Linked DNA regions of Homo sapiens: regions 2, 3, 4, 5, 6 and 7 are each linked to region 1. The links are contacts of gene promoters, found by promoter capture Hi-C in human tissues and cell types (Jung and others, 2019). All regions are on one chromosome and are shown on one strand. Each heading gives the region's core, a stretch centred on a gene start or on the middle of the fragment in contact. The rest is flanking DNA. Distances are from core to core; before and after follow the strand shown. Region 1 holds the start of FLRT3 (fibronectin leucine rich transmembrane protein 3). Region 2 overlaps MACROD2 (mono-ADP ribosylhydrolase 2). Region 3 overlaps MACROD2 (mono-ADP ribosylhydrolase 2). Region 4 overlaps MACROD2 (mono-ADP ribosylhydrolase 2). Region 5 overlaps MACROD2 (mono-ADP ribosylhydrolase 2). Region 6 overlaps MACROD2 (mono-ADP ribosylhydrolase 2). Region 7 overlaps KIF16B (kinesin family member 16B).

What was found. Contacts are between HindIII fragments. The study calls those that stand out against the background at their distance.
Region 2: a contact is called between a fragment that was not itself captured here and the fragment with the promoter of FLRT3 in region 1, in 1 of the 25 tissues and cell types used here (dorsolateral prefrontal cortex).
Region 3: a contact is called between a fragment that was not itself captured here and the fragment with the promoter of FLRT3 in region 1, in 1 of the 25 tissues and cell types used here (dorsolateral prefrontal cortex).
Region 4: a contact is called between a fragment that was not itself captured here and the fragment with the promoter of FLRT3 in region 1, in 1 of the 25 tissues and cell types used here (dorsolateral prefrontal cortex).
Region 5: a contact is called between a fragment that was not itself captured here and the fragment with the promoter of FLRT3 in region 1, in 2 of the 25 tissues and cell types used here (dorsolateral prefrontal cortex and lymphoblastoid cells).
Region 6: a contact is called between a fragment that was not itself captured here and the fragment with the promoter of FLRT3 in region 1, in 1 of the 25 tissues and cell types used here (dorsolateral prefrontal cortex).
Region 7: a fragment that was not itself captured here is called in contact with the fragment with the promoter of FLRT3 in region 1 in 1 of the 25 tissues and cell types used here (dorsolateral prefrontal cortex).

The regions. Positions count from the first base shown.
Region 1 is chr20:14,336,249-14,339,563 of GRCh38, forward strand. FLRT3 (fibronectin leucine rich transmembrane protein 3) reads right to left here and starts at 1,364. Exons shown (of 3, transcript NM_198391.3): 1 at 1,156-1,364. The region is part of intron 3 of MACROD2 (mono-ADP ribosylhydrolase 2); the gene reads left to right. The HindIII fragment of the contact is 3,050 bases long and covers 436-3,315 here.
Region 2 is chr20:15,976,222-15,979,381 of GRCh38, forward strand. All of the region lies in intron 13 of MACROD2 (mono-ADP ribosylhydrolase 2), which reads left to right. All of the region lies in intron 1 of LOC613266 (a long non-coding RNA gene), which reads right to left. Among named protein-coding and RNA genes, the nearest start is that of KIF16B, 600 kb to the right of the region's middle. The HindIII fragment of the contact is 4,742 bases long and covers 1-3,160 here.
Region 3 is chr20:15,865,603-15,869,031 of GRCh38, forward strand. The region is part of intron 9 of MACROD2 (mono-ADP ribosylhydrolase 2); the gene reads left to right. Among named protein-coding and RNA genes, the nearest start is that of KIF16B, 710 kb to the right of the region's middle. The HindIII fragment of the contact is 6,134 bases long and covers 1-3,429 here.
Region 4 is chr20:15,905,255-15,908,314 of GRCh38, forward strand. The region is part of intron 10 of MACROD2 (mono-ADP ribosylhydrolase 2); the gene reads left to right. The region is part of intron 1 of LOC613266 (a long non-coding RNA gene); the gene reads right to left. Among named protein-coding and RNA genes, the nearest start is that of KIF16B, 670 kb to the right of the region's middle. The HindIII fragment of the contact is 3,267 bases long and covers 1-3,060 here.
Region 5 is chr20:15,812,663-15,816,183 of GRCh38, forward strand. All of the region lies in intron 8 of MACROD2 (mono-ADP ribosylhydrolase 2), which reads left to right. Among named protein-coding and RNA genes, the nearest start is that of KIF16B, 760 kb to the right of the region's middle. The HindIII fragment of the contact is 4,299 bases long and covers 1-3,521 here.
Region 6 is chr20:15,836,298-15,839,706 of GRCh38, forward strand. The region is part of intron 8 of MACROD2 (mono-ADP ribosylhydrolase 2); the gene reads left to right. Among named protein-coding and RNA genes, the nearest start is that of KIF16B, 740 kb to the right of the region's middle. The HindIII fragment of the contact is 3,866 bases long and covers 1-3,409 here.
Region 7 is chr20:16,319,591-16,322,836 of GRCh38, forward strand. All of the region lies in intron 24 of KIF16B (kinesin family member 16B), which reads right to left. Among named protein-coding and RNA genes, the nearest start is that of KIF16B, 250 kb to the right of the region's middle. RefSeq lists a silencer at 2,974-3,246. The HindIII fragment of the contact is 5,671 bases long and covers 1-3,246 here.

The sequences.
Region 1 (3,315 bases), core at 114-2,613:
ATAGACAGATTTATTAAGAATGTTTAAAATAGCCTTATTATTAAAACCATTAGAGATTTTGGACTAAAAATTGAAAAAAAAATCAATTTTTTTTCTTTTAAATTCTAAATAAAATAATAAAAACAAACCCCCCAGATGTTGAGAAGACATGGATGGGCCTGTTGCACTCTTTACCTATATGCAACCATTTTGTTTCAGACCTAATTCAGTGAACAAAATTTTTTGAGAAGATACATTTAACTACTTTTTCAAGCTTTGTAGTATAAATGCATTTCTTCCAATATAAGATTTTCCTATTATAAGTTGCAAAGAATGGATCCTCTGCAAAACCCACTTGATAAGGGCTCTACTCATTTATTTTTCTTTCCTGCTACCCCAAACTCACTGCATACATCAGGCATAGCTTCCAGGGTGAGCTTTGTTAGTTTTTCTGAGTAGACTTAGCCATTTACTATGCTAGTCACATACTTCACTTGCCTAAGCAATGGATTTTGGTGTTCTATTGAAGAGGGAATATGGTTTGGAAGAGTGTCTCCCCCTCCTCTGAGTTCAATTTACTAGTTGAGATTTGCAAGCCTGAAATGCTTGAAGCAGCTCAGGCACGATAGCAGTGCAAGCTTTAAAATCTAGGTGTAGCTGTTAATCCTTTACAGAGGCACATAAGTCTCCAGGAGTAGCTCGGCTAGCTGTGAGCAAGATGTATGCTTTTCATGTACTGCGTACTCATGGGCTGAGGGATTATTGATTTTCTTTCACAGTTGTAAAAACAGCAATTGGTGATCATCCCACACGTACAGTACACACCAAGTTGCTTTCCTATCTGTGAAGAATCTCCTTGTATTCTTTAATATTTAACATTGAACTTTCCAACTTGCTGTTTTCCATAAGGCTCTTTTCACATAGCAATTACTCAAGACAGAAAATAGCCACTTACTATCTTTTATAAATGAAAGAAGGTTCTAAGAAACTTCTTACATTCAGCCATGATAGTGAAATTTTTCATTGCTGGCTTGCACGCACATATATTGCTTGTTGTGGTGACAGAGCAAACGTTCCTATTTGGATTTCTCATAGTATCAAGTCGTTTCTTTCTAGAGAGTAAAACCAAGCAAACTTTCTGGGACAATCATAAGAAAAAACATGGAAAACACTTACCAGGAAGACGAGAAAAAGCAATCCTATATACACTGCCGCTATAGCTGTAATTCCATTGACAGTGAATTGGAGTAATAGCCCTCCCCCGTCTCCCAAGCTCTGCGTCCAGTCCACACAAAGCCCACGGCAGCTGCAGGCTGAGCTTGTCCTGCTTCAGATCACTCCTACACTGAGGAGTGAGCGAGGGAGAGCATTCCAGTTTACTGCACACAGCCCACCTCCAAGTCTGAAGTTTAAAGCTTCACCTCGCAGTGGCTGAAGAAGGGGGTGATGTCATAGATGGGCAGGACTTAGCCAAGATCTTGTTCAGTGAGGTAACTGGATAATCAGACAGATGAGCTTTGCAAACGCTAGAGGGGGCGAGAGCAGCCAAAATGAAGCATCAGCCTGCCAAAGCTAGGATGCCATTTGGTTTGTAGGCAGCCCTTTGGAATCTCAACATTTTCTAAAGTTTACTACAAGGCAGTGGTAGCATACTTATGTATTTTTTTTAAAAAGCATGTTAGAAAGATATTTTTAAGATCACAATAGAAAAAGACAGGCTTTGTCTTATTTTTAAACCATCTGTATTGAAAAGAAGTTAACCAAAATCAAATTAGTTTTATTATTCACTAGCTAAAATAATGTTATAATTGTGGAAGATGTATGCCAGTAATCCCAACTGTGAATGTTTATTCAACATATGAATAAACAGCAGATTCAAATATATACATCAGGGCTGGGTGTGGTGGCTCACGCCTCTAATTCCGGCACTTTGGGAGGCCGAGGTGGGAGGATCACCTGAGGTCAGGAGTTCGAGACCAGCCTGACCAACATGTAGAAAAAATTAGCTGGGCGCCCGTAATCCCAGCTGTTTGGGAGGCTGAGGCAGGAGAATCACTTGAACCCGGGAGGCAGAGGTTGCAGTGAGCCAAGATTGCACCATTGCACTCCAGCCTGGGCAACAAGAACGAAACTCCATCTCCAATATATGTATATATATACACGTGTCACTGATTCATTTAGTTATGGGAAGGGCAATAGGAATGCCAAAAGATTTTTTTAAATGGTATTAAATGGTCTGTTCTTTTGGAGGCGAAGAAGTTACTGTTCTCTATGTTTTAGAAAATGAAAGTATGTTTTATGTACTTCTGCTACGTGTTTATATTATTTAAAATGGATTATTTATATTTAACGATCCCCCAATAAAATGTTTTTAAAAAATTTAATAGAATATTTTCCTTTCTAAATGTTTTTGCTGATCTGAGCATGGGTTTAGATATAAACATCTTAAGAAAAAAATCTTTCAGGGTGGTTTGCCTGGATTGAAATTATTTTAGTTTAATTTAGGTACATGAATAAACACTGGACAATTGTAAGACGTGGAGATTATAAATTTCTATGCCTAATTAACAGAATTATACTTGTATTTTTAATTATGATTTTTGTAGACTGGTTTCTGCTATTTGGTCAACAATTGCTTTGTGCCCGTAAGTTTTCCATCAAATAAGTGTATTTCACTTGTTCATGTTGGTGGTAAGAACTTAGCTTTTATATTTACCTGGAGGACCGTTGTCTTAAACTAATATCTTTATTTGCTCTATTCTTAGAGGTGCATGACCTTCTCCTTTGTCCTTTCTCAATTTTTCCCTGCATGTTTATTTCTGAAGAAGGCCAGCTAATAGTCTTTCCCAGGACTATTTGATTGTGGTCTCTTCATTAGCTTCATTTAGTTTATCTATTTATATATTTGTTTGATAACAGTTTGACCTGAGTTCCCTTCCAAGAATGGGTGATATCAAAGTAGGTGAACCCTTGATAAGAAATGTATTGACCCTATTGTTCTATGATTGCACTTTTGTGGGCCTCAGAGGACAGACCCATTAAATCTAGGAGTTTTAGATTCTAATGTCCATTGAAAAGCCAATTTCTTTGAACTGCTAGGTAGTACAATTAAACTGATATGCAGCAGCTGAATTTTGGGAGGAAAGGGAGGTGGATATTTTTCTGTTACTATGAAACAAAGACATGGATTAAATTATTTTATTAAATAATTATTTCTAGAAGCCATTTTCAGATAGGAGTTGGTTCTGTTTAAAAAAGAAAATTTTTGCCTGGTCAAATTCCTGTGGGTTTATAGCCATATTTAATCAGTTTCGTCTTCATTCAGGCAGGCCTTAA
Region 2 (3,160 bases), core at 8-2,507, 1.6 Mb after region 1:
ATTAATTAAAGCTAAAGCATTAGCTTGAGCCAAACTTAATTACCAAGGCTCCAAGAAACAATCATGTGATCTATTTCTAAAGAAAAGCGAATGGATTTTTGGATTATCTGTTCTAATGGTCCCCTCCCATAAGTATGGCTGATTGAGTTCACTGTATGAAAAATATATACATAAACTGTGGAATTCTTTGTGTTCTTTTGTTTCCTCAGCCAGGAGGGATTAGGGCAGAGGACAGTGGGGAGAATTCAACTAGTCCGAATGTGAAGAGGGAAACATAAAGCTTGCCCCCATGGGGCCAAGAAAGCAGGATGGAATGTGAAAGGTCTGCATGCACTGAGGAGAAAGGCAGATGGGCTGGAAGCCCTGGGAGGAGTCATTAACACACAGCAGGCCTGGGTGCGGTGCAAGGCAGTCAGGCATACCTTGTCTTTGTGCAATACGCCAAAGCCTGCCTCGTTTTCAAAGCTGGACACCTTGTTTTGTTTCTTCCCCCATTTTTAATTAACTTTATTTAAGAAAAATGAGAAAAAAAATTCTATTTCAAGAAAAGATTGTCAAAATATGTAAAGCACACAGGTGAAACAGATCAAGAGTAGAGACAGGTTTAGAGGGCAAGGAAGAGAAATATTCCAAGAGATATTTGAAATAGCACTTTATCCTCAAAGTGAAGGGTCAAGCCTTACAAGTCACAGAAACTCCCTGGTGTTCATCAACAGACTCAGGTTGCCACCTCAAGCAGGCCCACCTTTTCAGCAGTGCCCCAGGCTCTATTAAATGGGGACCTGCTCATTCTTGATTGAATTCCTCTGAAAATTTATCAAGTGGAGCACTGGGACCAGGGGACACACAGGAATACAGATTTTGGCCTTTTCCCCTCTCTGGATGCTCTACTCTTTCCCTTCATGATATAGACGAAGCCAGATCACAAATAGTACGTTAAAGGTCCTTGCAATGACCTGGTGCGATGATTAGGTTCAATGGCCAGTTCCCTATAGCAACAGTGATAGAGAATGAAGCTCACTCAGTAAACAAACAGTGAAGGTTCCCTCTCAGTATCATCCACCCAATAAACAAACGTCAATGTGACTGGAAACTTCATCTGAAGACATAGCTATGAACCTAGGAGATTATCTCGTTCCACAGCCTTTTTTCTTTTCAATAGATGATGAAATTAAAGGTCAAAGAGGTTGTGATTTGCCTAAAACATCCAGTTATCTTTATTCCCATTCCAGGGTTCTCTGCAACAAATATAATGTGTGGAGTGCTTAGTAGCATACAAGACTTTACCTTGTTGTTAAAGGATGCAAGAGAAAGTAAGTTATAGTCCTTAATAACTATTTACAGACCTTGATGAGTACTCTAATACAGGTCCAATTAAATAGACATTGATTGATGACTTCTTATTAAATGGGTGCTGGGCAGGAAAATATGAATAAAACAAAATTTCTCTCTTAATCTGGTAAGAGAGACAAAGACAGACACAACTACATCACGGTGTGATCAGGATCTGGATGGTAATTAGGAAAATTCATGTGTATATATCTAAAGAGTCATAAAGATATACACTTAAGGTTTGTACATTTTACTATATGCAAGTAGATCTCAATTTTAAAAGCTAAAAAGCAAAATAAAGACATTTCCAGGCAAAACAAAAAGAAAAGAGGGATTGTAGTCAGGTAGAGCTGGTTATGATTCTTGAAAGCAGAACTGAGATCACAGCACTTACTTTCCAGAGGTAATGTGATGATTAGAGATTACGTGTGAAGTATCTAGGGACAGTCTGGCATTTTTATGGGATCAATAATTTGCAGATTCACTTACATCTTCTAGGCCAGTGCTTCTCAAGGTTTAACTTGCATGCAAATCACATGGACATCTTGTTATACAATGCAGGCTCTGATTCTGTAGGTCTGTGATGAGGCCTGAAATTCTGCATTTTTGAAAAGCTCCCAGGTAATTCCAGTGTTGCTTGTCCATGGACCATACTTTTGTTAGGGACAAGCTGCCCCAGGACCACCCCCCTCCCCAAAAACAATGCAGCTGACCCTTACTCCGAATATTCTGCAGCTGCATTCCTGGACCCTTATCTAGGCACTACAGCAAGGTCGCCAGACTTGCTTACAGCCCTCCGGGTGGCATGGGGGAGGTCATGAGAAACGTGGATAAACCTAAGTTACACCCTCTTGTAAATTCCTATATTGTAAGCTGGTCACGAGATGATATGTGGTAAAGTTAACCGACAAAGAACCCCAGGGTCTCTCTCCACCATATAAACCCCTCATTTTGTAAGTTCAGGGCTGCCTCCGCTGACTGTGGTGGAGCAGCCCAGCAGGCTAATAAACTTACTCGCCTGACCTTGGGTCTCTCTCTCTCTCTCTCTCTCTCTCTCTCTCTCGTTCTTTCTCTCAGCTAACCTTACAACTTTGAGTGGCAATGGGGAAGAATGAGGATGAATGGGTTTTTTCAAAAGTGGAAAGGTCTTGATCAAGTTCAAATTTTAAAAGGCCTTTCTGCTATCAAATCACAAAATAGAATATAGGAGAAGAAAATGAAAGATCCAAGAGACAGATGATATATCCCTAAATGAGGAAAGAAGGCAGGAGACTAGAAAGTGGGAAAACCGAAATATTTTGCAGAACCATAAAGATGGCATTTCATTAAACGTCAGGAGTGATGGAAGAAAATAATCAAAAACAGCTTGAGGTTTTTATATTCAATGATCAAATAGATAAACATGCTTTAGTTTTAATTATTTTATTGGATCCTTTTGATTAAAATTGAGCTCAGGAGGAGTGGATATCACACAAAAAACATAATTTTTCCCTTATCCAGGTCATGCTAGCAGAGAATGAATCAAGGGGAAGTAGTATCATGGGCAGTTTAAAAATAATTGTATCAGAGAGGAAACTGTAAGATGAGGGGTTATATAAGTCAGCTTTGCTGCAGTAACAAATAACCCCAACAGTTTCACTGGGGGCTCAACAACAAAGGCTGGTTGTGTCTCTACTTAGCCCGGGTTGGCTGTGTTCCACATGCTTTCCATTCAGGATCTAGACGAAGGAACATGGTTTATTAGGAGCAAAAGAGCTGCAGGCAACATACAATGGATCTTAAGGCTTCTGCTTGGTTGCAGTACACATGATGTCTGTTCCAGTGCCAT
Region 3 (3,429 bases), core at 162-2,661, 1.5 Mb after region 1:
TAGTCACTCTCCAGGAAAGCTTTGAAAAGGGTTGGGGGAAAATTGGGTTCAGATATGTATGTCAGGGGAGACACAGCGAGGAAGTAAAACCAAAATGCACAAAACAGAAGGCATTTATTACTCACAAGTCCCAGACAGGTGAGGGATGCCCACAGGAGACCAACAGGAAGCCTGGAGGTGGCAGGGAGCCCAGCCAGCAAGTGGGCAGCAAGAGAGAGCAAGCACCTGGGGGCTGTCTTTATTAGTTCTGTATGCACCACCCCTTAGGCTTTCCCATGGGGGTTGTGGATTGGCTAGTTTAAAGAAAACACTCAGGAAGCAGGAACTTACTTCGATGATTCTGACACTATTAGATTTTTACCATGATCAGCAGTTGTGGAGTATATTGGGTTTGGGGTCAGCTGGATGAGGAACAAGTGGAACATATCACAACTGATCACACAGGGAGGGAAGTTTAAGTAGGCCAAAGGTGACAGGATACAACTGGGTTTCAAACAACTTATGTCAGGCCTAAGAATGGAGGCTGGCCAGGCACAGTGGCTCATGCCTGTAGAAGGAGGATTGCTTGAATCCAGGAGTTTCAGGCTAGCCTGGGCAACATAGCAAGAACTTGGCTCTACAAAAAATAAATAAATAAAAATTAGCTGAGAGTGGTGGTGCATACATACCTACAGTCCCAGCTACTCAGGAGGCTGAAGTGGGAGAATCACTTGAGCTCGGGGATTTGAGGCTGCAGTTGGCTATGATTGCACCACTGAACTCCAGCCTGGGTGACGAAGCAAGACCCCATCTCTAAAAAATATAAATAAATAAATAAATAAATATTGTAGAGATTTTAAAACCAAAAGGAAAAAAAGAAAAAAAAATGGATGCCAAGGCAGCAACTATATGAAACAAATTTATGATACCCTATGTTTTAGGCATGAAAAACGAGGATTCAGCTAGGAAGCAACAGAGCTGTATTTTAAAATTGAGATTGGCATCTGTCATTGCCCAAGTGATAATAGGTTCGTTTTCTCAGAGCATCTTTAGAGAAGGCTGAGATCAACTTCCAGGCTGCATTTGGAGTATTGGGGAAAGTCCCATTTCATCTGCTGCCCATCATTTTTCAGAGATGCCATGCTTCTCTTCTTCTAGTACCTATAAATACCTTCATGGAAACTTCTAATATGAGTTGAATTAGTACTTTTATCATTCATCTCAAAATTGAATTCCATTCACATTATAGAGGTATTGTGGTGCTATTACCTGCAGATGAGCAGGTAAGTGGTAAACGAGAAGCCCAAAGGCCTTTATAGCATCTACAGGACAAGATGGAAAATGGCTTATATTAGTTTGTCAGGCCTCTAAAAACAAAGTACCACAGAGCAGGCGGCTTAAACCACAGAAATACATTTTCTGATTATTCTGGAGGCTAGAAGCCCAAGGCCAAGTGGAGGCAAGATTAATTTCTTCAGAGGCCTCGCTCCTTGGCTTGTAGTTGGCTGTCTTCTCCCTGTACTTTCAAATGACCTTCCCTCTGAGTCATTTGTGCTGTATCTTTCTCTTTGTATAAGGATACCAGTCAAATGGGATTTGGACCCACTCTAATTACCTTATTTTAATTTAATTAGCTCTTAAAGATCCTATCTCCAAATACAGTCATATTCTAAGATATGAGGGTTAGGCCTTCAACATAAAAATTCACAGGGCACAATTAAGCCCATAAAATTGCCCCTTGTAGAAATGCTTTAAGAAACTCCAGGGAAAGAAACCAGCATCGAATTTTTTTTCAACAGTTTTATATCTTGCTGTGGGGTAAAGCACATTTGACTTTTTCCTTCCACAAGTATTATTTGAAAGTAGAGTGTGGCAGCTTTATGGAATTATCATACACTTTGGTTGCAAATAATTTATAGTTACAGTGCACCATTACATGGCCTACAGCAAATAATATTTGTATGATTCAACTCAGAAATCTCTTTGTTCTTTACATAAAAGTGCTTGTATTTTTTCAGTGTGTAGAATTTATTGTGTGCAGTTTTCACTAGACGTAAAAAATTAAAAAAAGAAAAGAAAAGACAATTCCCGATCTGGAATGTGGAAGTCATTTTTTCTTTTTTTTCTACTAGAGTCTTAGTCCTGCTAGAGAACTGAAGGATATTAATTTTCCCCGTAATAACAATAAAGAACATACGGTTTATAACGGTATTAAAGAATCTTGACGTTGGAAGCTTAAGACTTGTCATGGTAAACCCTCCTTCACTCCTCCCTTTAGGAAAAACCAACCTTTGTTTACTGCAATGGTTCTCAACTACGAGCGATTTTGCCCTCCTGGGGACATTCTGAGGCATTTTTGTTTTTCACAGCTGAGGGATGGGAGAGGTTACTGTGCTCTAGTGATTAGAGGCCAGGGGTGCTGCTAAGCATTCTACAGTGCACAGTACAGCACCCTCCACAACCCTCCAGCAGATAATTATTCAGCCTTAAATGGCAATAGTGCAGAGGTTGAGAGGCTCCATCTGCTGGTACTGTCTCTTACCACTCAGGCCATTGCCGCAGTCTTTGCCTTTGGATTGGGGTTATTTTACAGTGTTTCGACTGCTGATGCTTTACCCATAAGTAACTATCTAGCTGGATTTGGAACATGTACCCTCAGCCTGGTCTCTGGCTTCCTGGATTCATGACCCTCCTAGTCCAGACTTCTGGTTTTGCACCCTCTCTGTTCACTCTGTACCCACAGATTTCTATATCTTGACCTTTGTTAACCACATACACCTGCCACCCAACCCCTACTCTCCAGGTCCTCCTGCCACCACCCCACTCCTGGTATCATTTATCTATTACTGCCCATGAATCTAGAGTAATAATCTCAGAAAATATGATCATTACATAGGTTTTATATATCTAATAAAAGTGTGGAACTAAAGGCTAGTATACAGAGCAATGAAGAACAAATTCACTAATTATTTTCTTTATATACCTTAAGCAAGTTTCATTGCTTCTTGGGCTAATACTTTTCTTTTTTTTTTTTTTTCATTAGTTTGGTGACCATTGGTTGATAAACTTACCTTGTGAGCTCACAAAATATGTTTTAATTTTAGATACCTTCAACCCCTTATCATTATCTGCATAGTAACTGATTCATTCACAATGAAATCACCTATGACTGAAAAAACTACCAACTACTATTTTTTAAATTTGTTTTTCAGAGTCAGGGTCGTACTCTGTCATCTAGACTGGAGCGCAGTAACGCAATCATACTGATCATAACTCACTGCAGCCTCGAACTTCTGGGGCTCAAGGGATCCTCCTGTTTCAACTTCCTGGGTGGCTGAGACTACAGGCACACTCCACCATGCCCAGCTAATTTTATTTGTTTGTTTGTTCTTTAGAAACATGGTCTCACCATGTTGCCCAGGTTTGTCTTGAACTCCTGGGCTCAAGTAA
Region 4 (3,060 bases), core at 331-2,830, 1.6 Mb after region 1:
TTTTAAAACTCCTCTGAAATTGTCTAGAGGACTCATGAAAGGTGATACTAAGTTCACTATTAAAAAACTAAAGGAAAAGATCAGTTTATCAGGGCATAGACAGTGGATCTTTTTATAGTAACTTTAAAGGTACCTTTCTTTAAATGTTATAGATGTCTGTGAGTAATTTAGACTATGTGTTTAACAATTTGTCTATTTTGATTTCCTAAACCAAGGATGAAGAATGCATCAGTCAGATGTGTTTGCCTTTGTTTTGTTGAAAACTCAGTCCCCGGGTTTATAGAACTAAAGCATTAGAGTGATTGTTTTCAATGTTGACACCATGCCAATAGGACATTTGAGGACTTATAATATTAGGTACTAATTTTTCAACAGAGAAAGGGTTTATTTTGTCGTTAAGGAGAGGTATTGCTATTTGAACAGTGTTGAATTTTCATGTTACGATTTTGTAGTTGTATTTCAAAATTTCAGTTTTCTAATGTAACAAAGTTGTGCTTTCCTGCTATACCAGAGAGAGCCTTAAAACTGTCCACCTACACTAGAATTTCCTGGATTCACGCCACACTCTCCTAATGCCTTGCTCAAGTGTGCCTGTTCTCTCCTACCTCTTGTCACTCTGGAGCCATCAGAGACAGTCTTAGGAAATGATTTCATCTCCAGGGATCACCATGCCTGAGGAATGACATGCAGAAACCCAGGGTACTGTATTCTCCGTAGACAGAAAATGCTAGCAGAACCACTTGAATCATTTCTCAATTCTCCATCCTGAGAATTCCCCACTGGCTTCTAACAATCTTTGCTGCTGGCAGAAGGAAAGTAGATATGGGGTTTGAGAGGAAAGGGGCAGAGGGAAGGGGAGACTGGCTGTAGAATGTGGAGCGAAAGTGGAATGTTTTTGCTGAGTGCTTAGTGAACAGTTGCAAACTGCCACCCTTGGGAGAACCTCTCATTCAGCCACTTATGGTGTATCCAAAAACGCAGATTCCTGCACCTAGCCCAACCCTTCACCAAATCAGAAAGCTGCATGCTAACTAGATGCAATGCATCTTTGGAGCACCATTTCTTTTGCCTTTGTTTCTTATTTTAAACAATCTCAAACTTACAGCAAATTTGCAAGTACAGTAAAAATAACCTTTTTTTCCTGAACCATTTGGGAATAAGTTGCCAATCTACTGTTTCTATCCCCAAACATTTAACTGAGCATTTTCTACAAATTGGGCATTCATCCTGCATGAGCACAATAAAAAGATCAAAATTAGAACATGAATATGGATATATCACTACTATCTAATTTTCAGATCTCATTTAAGTTTCACCAGTTTTCCAATGATGCTCCTTGTAACAAAAAAAAAAAACGCTTTCAAACTCAAATTTCTCATTTTGCTGCCACATCTCTTTATTCTCCTCCAGTCTGGAACAGTTTCCCAATCTTAATTTGACTTTACTGCCCTTGACACTTTTGAAGATTGCAGGTCAGTTATCTACTCGAATGTTTCCAATTTGGATTGGTCTGATGTTTTCTCATGGCTGGATTCAAGTGATGCATCTTTGAAGAACTATCACAGAAGTGATACTGTGTTCTTCTCATGGCAGGCTATGAAGGGCCCATTATCTCAATTTGTCCCATTATTGACAATATTCACTCGCTTTGATTACTTGATTAAGGTGGTGTCTCAGAGGCTCCTCAACTACACAGCTGCTTTTTCCTCTGTTTGTAATTGATGAGTACCCCTTGTGGGAAGGCACAATGAAACTAGGTAAATGGCCCATTCCTCATTAAACTTTCAATTTATTCATTTGTGTACTTATTTATATCCTCGTGGACTCATCATTTCCCATTCTATTCAATGGGTTGTAATAACGCCTTAGCCTTGGTACCCACCAATTCTTCAAGGAGGTTTGGTTTCTTTTAGTAGAGAAGCGTATTTGGAAACTAGATCTGAGTATTAAGTGTGTGGATCACAATTTGAGATATGTTATTTAAAACAGAACGATCAGATTATCTTGATGGTTCAATGTGGGGAACCAGCTCACAAGATCAGTCAATCACATCTTCCTGATGAATTCATCCAATTGCCAGAATGGTTTTCTTATAGACCTTCCATTATAGCTGTGGCCAAGAGATCAAATTGTCCAACTTTGGTTAAGTTTGGCAGAGTACAGCCCAATGAGGATGGGGAGAGCATGGAAATCTGTTTGGTGTTTAGGGTTTCTAAAAGTGTTAACTCAATCCTGTTGTCAAATTTTGCTTGTCCATTATATAACACCAAATCAACTAATTAGCAAAGGGTTAATATTACATATGTAGGCATGCCCTTGAATTGTTTATGCACCTTTTTTTGTTCTCTTTTTATTGTAAGTGTTAAAATACACATGAGACAAAGGTCACATTTCTACGCTGATGACACGGTGTGCCGTGAGTGTGGACAGTCATTTTGCTAATTCTTCTCATTGGTGGTTCCGCTAGATGGATGATTTCCCTGAATTAGCCATCATAACTGCCATCTGTTCCTGTGCATAGATACAGAGATCTAAAGAGTAGAGGTCAGGAAGAATTTTAAAAAGGGCTGTGTGCTCAGTTGCCTCTGTTTGTCTCTCTAGAACATTCTCTAGACTGCTTTTTGCCTGAGACCTAAGGGGCTGCATTGACTGGACTCCCTCACCCTCAAGCTTTGGGTTGGTTAACTAATATTTCTCAATTTTATTTTCATGACTACACTCCCTAAGGAGGCTTTTTTAGACATTCTTTTTCTAATTGTCTCCACCTGACCATGAAATTTTAATACCATAAATATATTGCATATCTATTTATGAACTGTATCTTTTGGAGGGTACAGACCATTATAATAGCTAAGAGTTTTTTGCTGTGTTTTTTGTTTTTTTCCTTTTTGCCCTGCCAAGAACAAATGTTTGCTTCCCATTGAGAAGGCATGCGCTAGACCAGTGGAAGTCATTTAAGGGAGATTGGAGAATGGGGGGAAAAGTACTAAGGACAAAAAGACATTTATTCTCTTTGACCCTTGCTGCCAGACAGAAATGACTTCACCCAAGGACACAGCA
Region 5 (3,521 bases), core at 339-2,838, 1.5 Mb after region 1:
TAGACACAATTTTAGCTAGGTATTCAATTGCATTTGTTTGAGTAGGTAAGTAGAAACCAAGTCTCAGTGATCAGAATTTTAGTACAGAGCTAACTTAAGTTGTTTGCTTTTGTCTCTTCAACGTTAGAAGGACAAATGGTGCCTTGATTTTACACCACTTCATAAATAATTTTCTAGAGCCACATTTTTTACAACAGACTGAAACAAACAGGCCTAGATCTGGTTCTGATTATTATGACAGAGAAATGTGAATACAATAGAGAAATGACATATTAATCATAGTGATGTTTGATATGCTCACTTGGAATGTGAACTAACAGGTTCAGGTACCCCAGAAATATCTCAAAGACTTCTTTTATAGGGCTGATTCCCCCCTTATTATGGAAAGCTATATTTTTCCTATATATTTTATTAATTCCCTATGTCTTTATTTCAGTGTAGAACATATTCCTTTAATCATTAGCATGCACCAACCCCTCCCCAAAAAAAGCACAAGCTAAAGCAAATTTATAGAAACCCAACTTGAATTCTAACTCAGCAACTCAAAACCATTGGACATTTCTAAATTTTTTATGTAACCATGACTTCATCTGAAATTCTGTTGCTTACACGTCTTGCTACTTCTTAAGCTCACTTTTCTAAAATGATGAATGCTCATATAAAAGGCAAAACAAGGCAGCCCTGTAGAGACATGTTAAGTCTACAAGTCAATTGATTTCCTATGAGAAACTTTTGAGCTAGGGAAGCAGGGACTCAGGAAAGTTTTGTTTCTTGTTAGATGCCAGCTGAATAGAATTAAATATATTGTCACACCTTGAATATTAAAATATCCTGGCTGGATGCAGTGGCTCACACTTATAATCATAGCATTTTGGGAGCCTGAGGCAAGAGGATCACTTGAGCTCATGAGTTCAAGACCAGCATGGGAAACATAGTGAGATCTTGTCTCTATAAAAAATATTAAAAATTAGCCAGGCATGGTGGCACATGCTTGTGATCCCAGCTACCCAGGAGGCTGAGGTAGGAGGATCACTTGAGCCCAGGAGTTCAAGGCTTCAGTGAGCAGTGACTGGGCCACTGCACTTCAGCCTGGGAGACAGAGGGAGAGATCCCCGTCTCAAAACAACAACAACACAATATCTTGAACTTCAGATGTTTTAATAGAGACAGTGTGATACATGTGTACATAGGGAAGAAACTAGCCCACGGAGTTCACTATTACATAAAACAGCATGGTTTACCTACCATTGCTTTTATTAAAAGTTTTTGTTTTTCCATGTTCATGTTGTTTTTGGAAATATATTGTAAAGTAATATTGTCAAGTAAATAATTTTCTCAAGGGAAAAATAACAATTAGAAAAGAGGTAAGACCCCTTTGCTCTGATACCCTTAACCAAGTTAATTGAGGAGAGAAGTAGAAATAGGAAGAGAAGAAGAGAGGAAGGACAGAAAAAAAGAAAATATATGAGGGTAAAATAACATCACTGCAGGAGATGTTGCCCGTGCCCTGTTCACATTGGACCTTAACACTTTACTATGCTCCACACAATTTTTAGCTTCCAGTATCTGCAACTCTGTTGCAGGGGTTCTTTTCCATTATAGTGGAAACCTTCCTGGTCAGCAGAAGACTACTCTGCACATGGCAGGCTGCCAGTGACAAGAAATTAACATCCCTTAAAACCTTTCCCTCAATCAGTGATTCTCTAGTGTATCAATACCCCAGCTCCCCTCCTCTTGGCTGCCATAATTCTAAGCTTTCTCTTATACACCACATCTCAGAGCTTCTCTGTAGCAGTAAGCTCCAGTGACCCATTGTAGTAGCTGGCTTAATAATTCACCCATTATTGATTGCTTTGCCTCTCTGTGTTACTTCACCACTCTTTCCATGCTCCCTGGGATCACCTCCTAAATAAACCATTTGAACTTATATCCTAGTCTTAACACTATGCCCCTGGTGGAACACAAATAAGATAACTACTATTTCTGTTCATAACAGTTTGTCCTTGGACTCCATTCATTAGAATTGTAATGGCTTCTATTATTAAGACCTGTACAAACTTTTTCATGATACTGCACTTACCTGGGTTATGCATTCTCCCTGCTTTCTTCAATATCCATCACAGGTGTTTCATAAATATTTTCTGAGTGTAGACTAATTCCACCAGTGCAAAGCTTTTGCTACAGCACAGTTCTGGCACACAGTCTGTGCTTACTAAATGTTTTATCAGATGAAGTGTGATGATTATGCCTTTGGCAGTGGAAAGGTCTTTATTCAACTTTTAATTATGTCCAGAAGAATGGCAGAATATGTAGTGTTTGCAACCATCTGGTTGAAATCCACCTGCTTACACAGGTATTTCAGGGCAGAGGGGGTACTTTATCCATCTTAGCATCTGGGAATAATTTATCATAGAGGCCAACTTGCAAAATCAGTCACTCTGGATGCCTCATCCCTTTCAAATGAAAAGGATTTGGCTTCAAGTGCTGGACATGGAAACTGAGAATGCAGTGACTCATTTCTTTAAAAATGTGAATATGAGAGAGGAAGATTTTTATCACTCAAAGTGCAGCACGGTGAGAGCTCGCCTGAGTTAGGTAAAATGCACATAACTTATTTTATGGACACCTCTCTAAAGTGCCTTAAAGCTTAAAGGATAAAGAACCCAGTGGGTTTTCGTTTTGTTATATGCCCCAAGGCTGAAACTCTGTGGCATATTTTAACAGAGTTTTTAAATGGCAAAACAATAGTTCTTTTTTTTTTTAATGTAGTCTAAAATAAAATGGAACTCCAGACCTGTGTGCGACAGCTGGTGTTCATATGACACTGTTAGATGCCTCCTTTTATCCCAATCTCAGTCTCCCTTGGGTAGACAAGAAATGGGAGAGAATAGTCAAAAGTAAGAAACACTTCTACTTGAGTGACATCTTCCTGATCGTAGCAGAATGAAATATTATGACAGTTGTCCAGGTAGTTCTAAGTTTTGAAATTTTTTACTAAAATATTCAGATATAATGGAAGCAAGGACTTCCTGGAAAAATTATCTCCTCAATTATCTTTTTTAAGTTGAAGTTATATGAGTCTGACTTTTAGACTTCTAGTCAAATTATGCAACTTTTCTTCTTCTGCCAGTCAGCTTGTTGCCACTGATAAGTAAAATGGGATTCTAGAAGTTAACAGGGTTTGAGTTTTTTTCCATGATGTTGATTATTAGATTTCAAAACTTTTAAATCTTAAGTTTATTTACATAATTAGTCAATTGTAACCTGAATATCTGAGGAGTTATTAATGTGTCAAGCTGACATTATTTAATCATCAGAAAAGCTATCTTTCCTTCCCCAGTCCATCTCTCCGTCTCCCTCTGCGTGTGTGTGTTTGTGTGTGTGTATCTCTTTCTGTCTCTGTCTCTCTCTACATATATTCATTATATGTATATAATACATATACATCACATATATGATCCTATTTGGCCTGACATACTATACCCATAGGACTAACTTAAGTAATATGAGAAGAGTGAGAA
Region 6 (3,409 bases), core at 665-3,164, 1.5 Mb after region 1:
TTTGTGGCAACAAACCCCTTATGACTGACACACACACTCCTTCCTTAAAACCTTTATCTTCTGCAGAAGCAATCTCATTACAACCAATTGGTGGTCAGTTACACAGAATGGAGTCATAAGAGTCATTATCTATGGGATGTTTTTTCCTTTATTCACAATGAAGGCATAATCTTTTTAGAGAGAAATACAATTCTCTCCAGATATATAACAAAATATATCTACTGATGTTGGTTTAGTTTCATGTGGTTGACAAGAAAAAGCATTCATTTACCTGAATACGCAGCTCAATTTTAAAATAATTTCTGTAATTTTATTATAATTCACAGAGCTGCTTTTATTCATTTTACAAATTGCTTTCAAAGCATAAATGATGTATTGAAAGGGATTGACTATCCGTAATAGCTCTGATGTGTGAGTGGCTGGTGGACTTACCACTTTAACATGATCTGGCATCAACCTCCATGAGCTGCGCAGTAAGAATAGCAATACCAAATTGTGGTAAACCTCAAGAGTTTTCAAGGAAGCAATATGGGTCTAATTGGGCAGAAGCTTAGCAAGTAGACCACAGCTATTTCTTTGTAGAAAGTCCAGTTGTGTATTACAAAGATTGTGCCTATAAGGTTTGCCTTGCTAAATGGAAACCACAAGGAATGGGCCTTTGGATGTCTTCTTGAATCAGAGCATTAAAGGGACTTAGCTGGAGTTCAATAAGGATAACATTTTTTTCTTTGCAAAAATATGAGCTGTGTGCACCAGCACACATATGTACTTGGTCTGCAGGCTTCTCTCTAGGTTGCCAAGAAAATAGGTTTTGATGGACAGGGCTGTACCATGAAGGATAGTAGACGAAAAAAAAGATATTAAAGGAAGCCCCCTTTTTAACCTTTAAACAAAGTTAAACATGCAGTGTTTCTTAATATTGTTTAACCATAAATGCCTTTTCAAAAGTATAATATGCACTAAGATTTGCTCTGTGGAACTTGCTTGGGTAATCGGATCTTTTAAAAGAGAGAGAAATTCTGTGGAGTGAGACACAGAAAATCTTATTGAATGGGACCCCTTTTCTCCGTGTGGGAATGAACTGGTCTCTCAACTTTCTCCTTAGCTAACTGTCTGCAACACTACAGACTCGTATCTACCTCCAACATGAGCCTCTCTTGTCCTCACAAGAACCCCTCGAGGGCTCTACTGTGTCCTCAGTAGCAGACACTGTATCATGTTCAGGTGCTTGTCTGTTTTTTTGATCACTAGCCCCATCAATCTGTTTTTTTCCAACTTGCCGCATTCTACACATTTTCCTCCTCAGGTCACCAAAGTGCAGCCTTTCATTTCTACCTCCAGAAACTCAAGAGTTTCTGGAAACTTGATTTGCCCCATATTATTAACAAAACAATTTTATTAACATATATATTGGCCTCTGAGCTGCTTCTGACCACAGACACCTTAGGTTCCTCTTGGTTACAAAAGCTGTGGTCTATCTCTGATGATGTACGAAAGAAGCTGATGCTTATCCTGTGGTTGTTGGTCCTAACCTCCTGTTTAGTCTTTTTGTAATTTGAATCTCATGCAACTTTTGTGATACTCTTAGCCCATCATCAACTGCTTAGCCCATCATCAATTGAAAATAATCAGATATCCTAAAATCATCAGCCAGCGAACTTTTCAGATTGTTGGCACTTGAGTTTTTGTAGCACTAAGTAGGAACTATCACCTTACCCCAGTGTCATAAATCTATGGGACTAAAAATTTTGAGAAAAACTCATATACCGTATTATATTCAATACTCCAGAGATCTACTCAGGTTAATTTTCTTGTCAAGATTGGGCAGCTTTTGACCTAGAATATCAAGCTTTTTTTTTACTATGGGGCTGTGGTACATTCCATTCTTTCCTTTTAATTTAGTAACACTTGGATTTCCTCTCTAATAAGGAACAAAGTAAACAATAAACTCAGAAGCTCCCAATGCTCTTCAGTGTAGGAGAAATTATTTCACATTACCAGGGAAGAGAAGGAAGTTGCTTTTATCCTAATAGTGATATTCTCATTTCTTATCTTTCTATGCAAAATGTTTAATGTTTCCATCTTGTGGAGCCCTTAATTACATCCTTACCAGATGTGATGCAAAAATTAAGCATCAATTAGCTTTTTCTGGATTGCACACATCCTTAAATTCTGTTTTCAGATCACTGCAACTTAACTTTGTGATTTATATTGGAAAGATAGCTTTGGGGGTTCATTTCACTTCATTATTCTTCAGCAATTGTATTTCATCCCCTTAGCTATTTCTATGGCAATTGTGCTCTGTTGAGAAGAGATTGACCAGTGTTGCTACATCACAATGACTGTGAGATAAAATCCGGTAGAGCACAGCTAGATTTTGATGAGTTTTTGGATCCCACACGCACAAAAGCAGCATAGGAAAATAAAAGTGATAAGCATCATTTTTTGCATTCAAAGTTGTTCTGATATAAGACAGACTGAACCTTTTAAATAAATACATCAATAAAATGGACTAATGCAACTGTAAGCTTGTAGTCTGGTTTCATTTGATAAAAGCATTTATAAAAATAAGAATGATTTCCCAGAAGTCAGTTAGTATAAGAGGTACAATGGAAAGCCCAGACAGTTTGGAGGACGGCTTTGGGTACTCAACTCATACATGTGTATGCATATGTAAACTGTGTGCTTATATATGGATATGACTATAGATATAGACATATGCACTGTCTTTTGCCCAAATTATTTCCTGTTATGTTTATTGGTAATATTTGCCTCATTCTACATGTAGAATTCCTATTTCAGCTTAAATCTCAAATGTTAGTGAAAGCCTAATTTTTTATCCATCATTTCTCAAAAAAGGCTCCTTACAATATATCTCTTCATGAAGAGAAGAAACAGAAGCATCCCTTGAGAGGAAATATAGCATTACACTTGTGAGCAAGGACTATGGACAAGATTGCCCAAGTTCGTCTCTTTCATCACATGATGAACCGAACCATTGGCCCCCGTTCTCAGTGGCTCTGTATGCCTATATCCTTGCCATGGTCTCATTGTGAGAAAAGAGTACATCCCGATTCCTTGACTTTTTCCTTGGCTCTGTGACTTCTGTCGGCTTACTGAAAGGTGACGGAAGTGAGGCTAAGTTAGTTCCAAGGCTGGGCCTCGTAAGACCTTGTGCATTTTCACTTTCTGCTCTTGGCACTGCCATGAGACTATTGACTTGATAACTCATTAGTCCAGAGGGGATAAGAAACATGTGAAACAGAATTGCCCCAGCCCACCTATGGTACAAAGCCCAGCTGCCCCAACTGTCATAGCCTAAATCAGAAGCTCCCATCCATTCTCAGTCTAGATTTGGTGAACCTCAGCTGACCACATATCATCTATAAGAAGTATAATGAAAATCCCA
Region 7 (3,246 bases), core at 546-3,045, 2.0 Mb after region 1:
GGCCTGCTGCTAGAGCCAGTATTGGTAGAAACACTATGAACAGTAATTCCAGAATCTCTGGAGGCTCAAATATAGACTAGTGTGATTGTTAAAATCTCTGAGGGGGGCCAGTCTTGAGGAAGGTCTCCACGCTTTTGAGCGTTTTACTTCCAGGAGCCCCACCAGGTTCTCACTGTGAAGTTGGATTCTAGTTTTCAAATGATGTGTTCTCACTGTGACATTAGGGGATTGAGCAGGGGAAGGAAAAAGTAACCATTTTTAAATATTCCCAGAGCTCTCTGTTCTCCTTCACAAGGCTCGCTCTTAAGAGAAAGTGTTTTACCAGAACCTAACTACCTTAGGTTTTGCCAGAGCCTAACCGACCAGGGCTAAATGAAACACTCAACGCAGGCTCATGAAAAGACTGCAAACTACCCTAGGACTATAGAAGGCTTCCTCTCACCATACCTTACCATCACATCATGGGGCTGCTGTGTAACAGGGATTACAGCTGAAATAACTGTAAGCCTCAGACCCTATTTTAAAAGACTCCAGGAAAGCCCAAAGACAACAATGGAAGACAAAAACAAGGGCACTACAGGAAATTTTAGCCTCTGACACCACATCGACATCAACCAATAAACCTAGCCTATATCTTAGCCAGATAAACATAAAACCTCGCACTAAAAATCAATCTACCTCAATTCCTTTTACCCAATATATAGTGTCTAGCTTTCAACAAAATATTACAAGGCAAATTAAAAGGCAAAAACACAGTCTAAAGCTATTCTAAAATGAAAAAAAAAACTTTAAAAAAATCAGTGCCTCTGCACCCTCCTTCCTTCCACAAAAAAATGTGAGCCAGCAGGACTTAAGAAAGAGGTGGAAGAAACAAAAACACGATGGGAATGAAAGCCCCAGTAGAAGGAACAAGTGCAGAACAAGCACAATAAAAACAGATTAGCACGCAGCACACAGAGCGGAGAAAATAACAACACAAAATAAAATGTGATAAAAGAAATGTGACCCAAAAAGTTTATATCTAACCAAAGGGTCTTTCAAGTGCCACAAATACACATTCTGAAGCAGATAAGAACTCAGATAAAACACATCAAGGTGCATCTTTCAAAAACATACTGAATGACCAAAAATATCCAACCACAAGATAGCACAATGTAAAGATCTCAGAATATAACTTAAAAAATTTGGGAGGTGGGAGAAAATAAAGTTAATTTTATCTCTGTTAGAAGAGTCACTTAGTAATTTATAAAATGGAAACACATCATTTGAAAACTAGTGACCTTAACATTTCAATTTAAAAAATAATCTTAGAGTCACATATATTTTAGAGACAATATATCATGTGGTGAAGAAAATTTAATTTGAAGTTCAGCAATTTCTTCAGTTTTCATTTTCTTTCACTTCTGTTCAAGTAAAATTAAATGTAATGTTTATACTTAAAAATACCATATCTAGAATAAACACAATGTCGTAAAGTTATTTCACTCTTTTCCCTATTCTTCGATTTTAATTTCTTTTTTGTCAATCTACATCTCCATCCTCTTATCTGTGCCTATTCATTTAGATACTTAAAATAATGTTCATTAAATGGTAACATTAATCATATTTATAGAATCATTTTGGGATAATCTGTTCCTTTTTTTCTTATATTTCCTTGTATTATGTAAAATTTTTATAAATGAACATGCATCATTTTTATAGAAACAGTAAAAAGTGATTATTCTTTTTACAAATTTAATGGAAGAGTTAAATTAACACCATATGTCTTTTTCTTTTAATAACCTAAGATTTGGGGCAACTGGATTTCAAGTCTCAGCTTAGCAAATAGCTGGTTGTATAATCTGGAGCAATGTATAAAAACTTCTCTAGTTCCTAGTTTCATCATCGTGAAAATGAAGAAATTGAACCAAGATGTTTAAGTTTCATTTCAGTTCTGAAATTCTATAACTCAGATGCTGATGATTAAAATCTCCCTACACAGCGTTAGAAGTAACACTTTAGATACCATGGAGATATTTTACCTATTATCTTGGCTATACTGCTTTTGAGGAAGGTATCTTACTTCCTATGAAATCTTCACAGTATTCTCATTTGAAGTAAGGCTCAGATGTGCAGAAGGAAAATGGGGCCTGATATAATAATGAAACATATTATTTTTTCAAGAGGTTGTAGAACAGAAAAAGGACAGACACAAACAGAAATGCAGTATTCATGAGAAAACCCTTAAAATGGCATCTTTTCCTGTTATAGCTATTATCCTTACAGCAGGAGTGGGAAATGATGCAAAGATATTTGAGCTCTTATGGGAAAACTGTGTATTAAAGTTAAAAATGATGACTGAGGTCAAATAAATTGGATATTTGTGACAGATATGATAGGCCTAGAGAATGCTGAAGGAGAGCTTAACAACAGCCCTATGGCCTACTTTGTCTCATTATGAAATTTGGTTATGTAGAGTAAAACACAGGAAACAAACAAATGAGGATTACAATAGCATATTTCTTAGGCCTAAGAAAAGCATAATGGCAAGCTTGTTTTGCAATTCGGTGAATAAAATATATTCAAAAGACAAAAGACAAAATTCCTATGGAACCAAAAAAGAGCCCACACAGCCAAAGCAAGACTAAGTCACTAAAAAATGAAATCAATAATTTGAGGCCTACCGATTTCCAATGAAATTTGTCTTTCCCTTCTTCAGTGCTTGTGAAGTCTAAAAACCCAAGTAATTAGCTTTATTTTGGATGTTCAACCACCAAGCCTCTACATTTTTGGTTGAAAAATAGATCTATATGAAGAATTTTCAAAAGAGTAAGCTAAGACAATTAGTATTTACTTAAATCTTATAAGCTATTTTATAATATAAATTATTTTATAATTATTCGTGAATCCCAGGGTTGGGAATTATGAAAGCGTTGAGTATCATCCATCTAGCAAGTTAGCTAGCTATATGTATATGTATGCATATTAGAAATATAGTCAGCATTCTCTCTGCTGATACTGTAATATTTCTTAATGATCTCAGAGTGAAATTTTCATCTATAAGTTGATTTTTCTCTTTCTGATTCCCGGTGAACTGACACAGCCCAATTTTCTTCTAAGAGTTATCAGGCTCAAATCCTGACTTCAATGTTTATTACATTATAATAAGATAGGTCAGCCAGTCTGCTGCCATCAAGAAGACATGTAATGGAAAAATGTAATGGAAAAGTTTCCTGTTTTTGAAAGCCTTTTCTCTTGGCAAAGTTC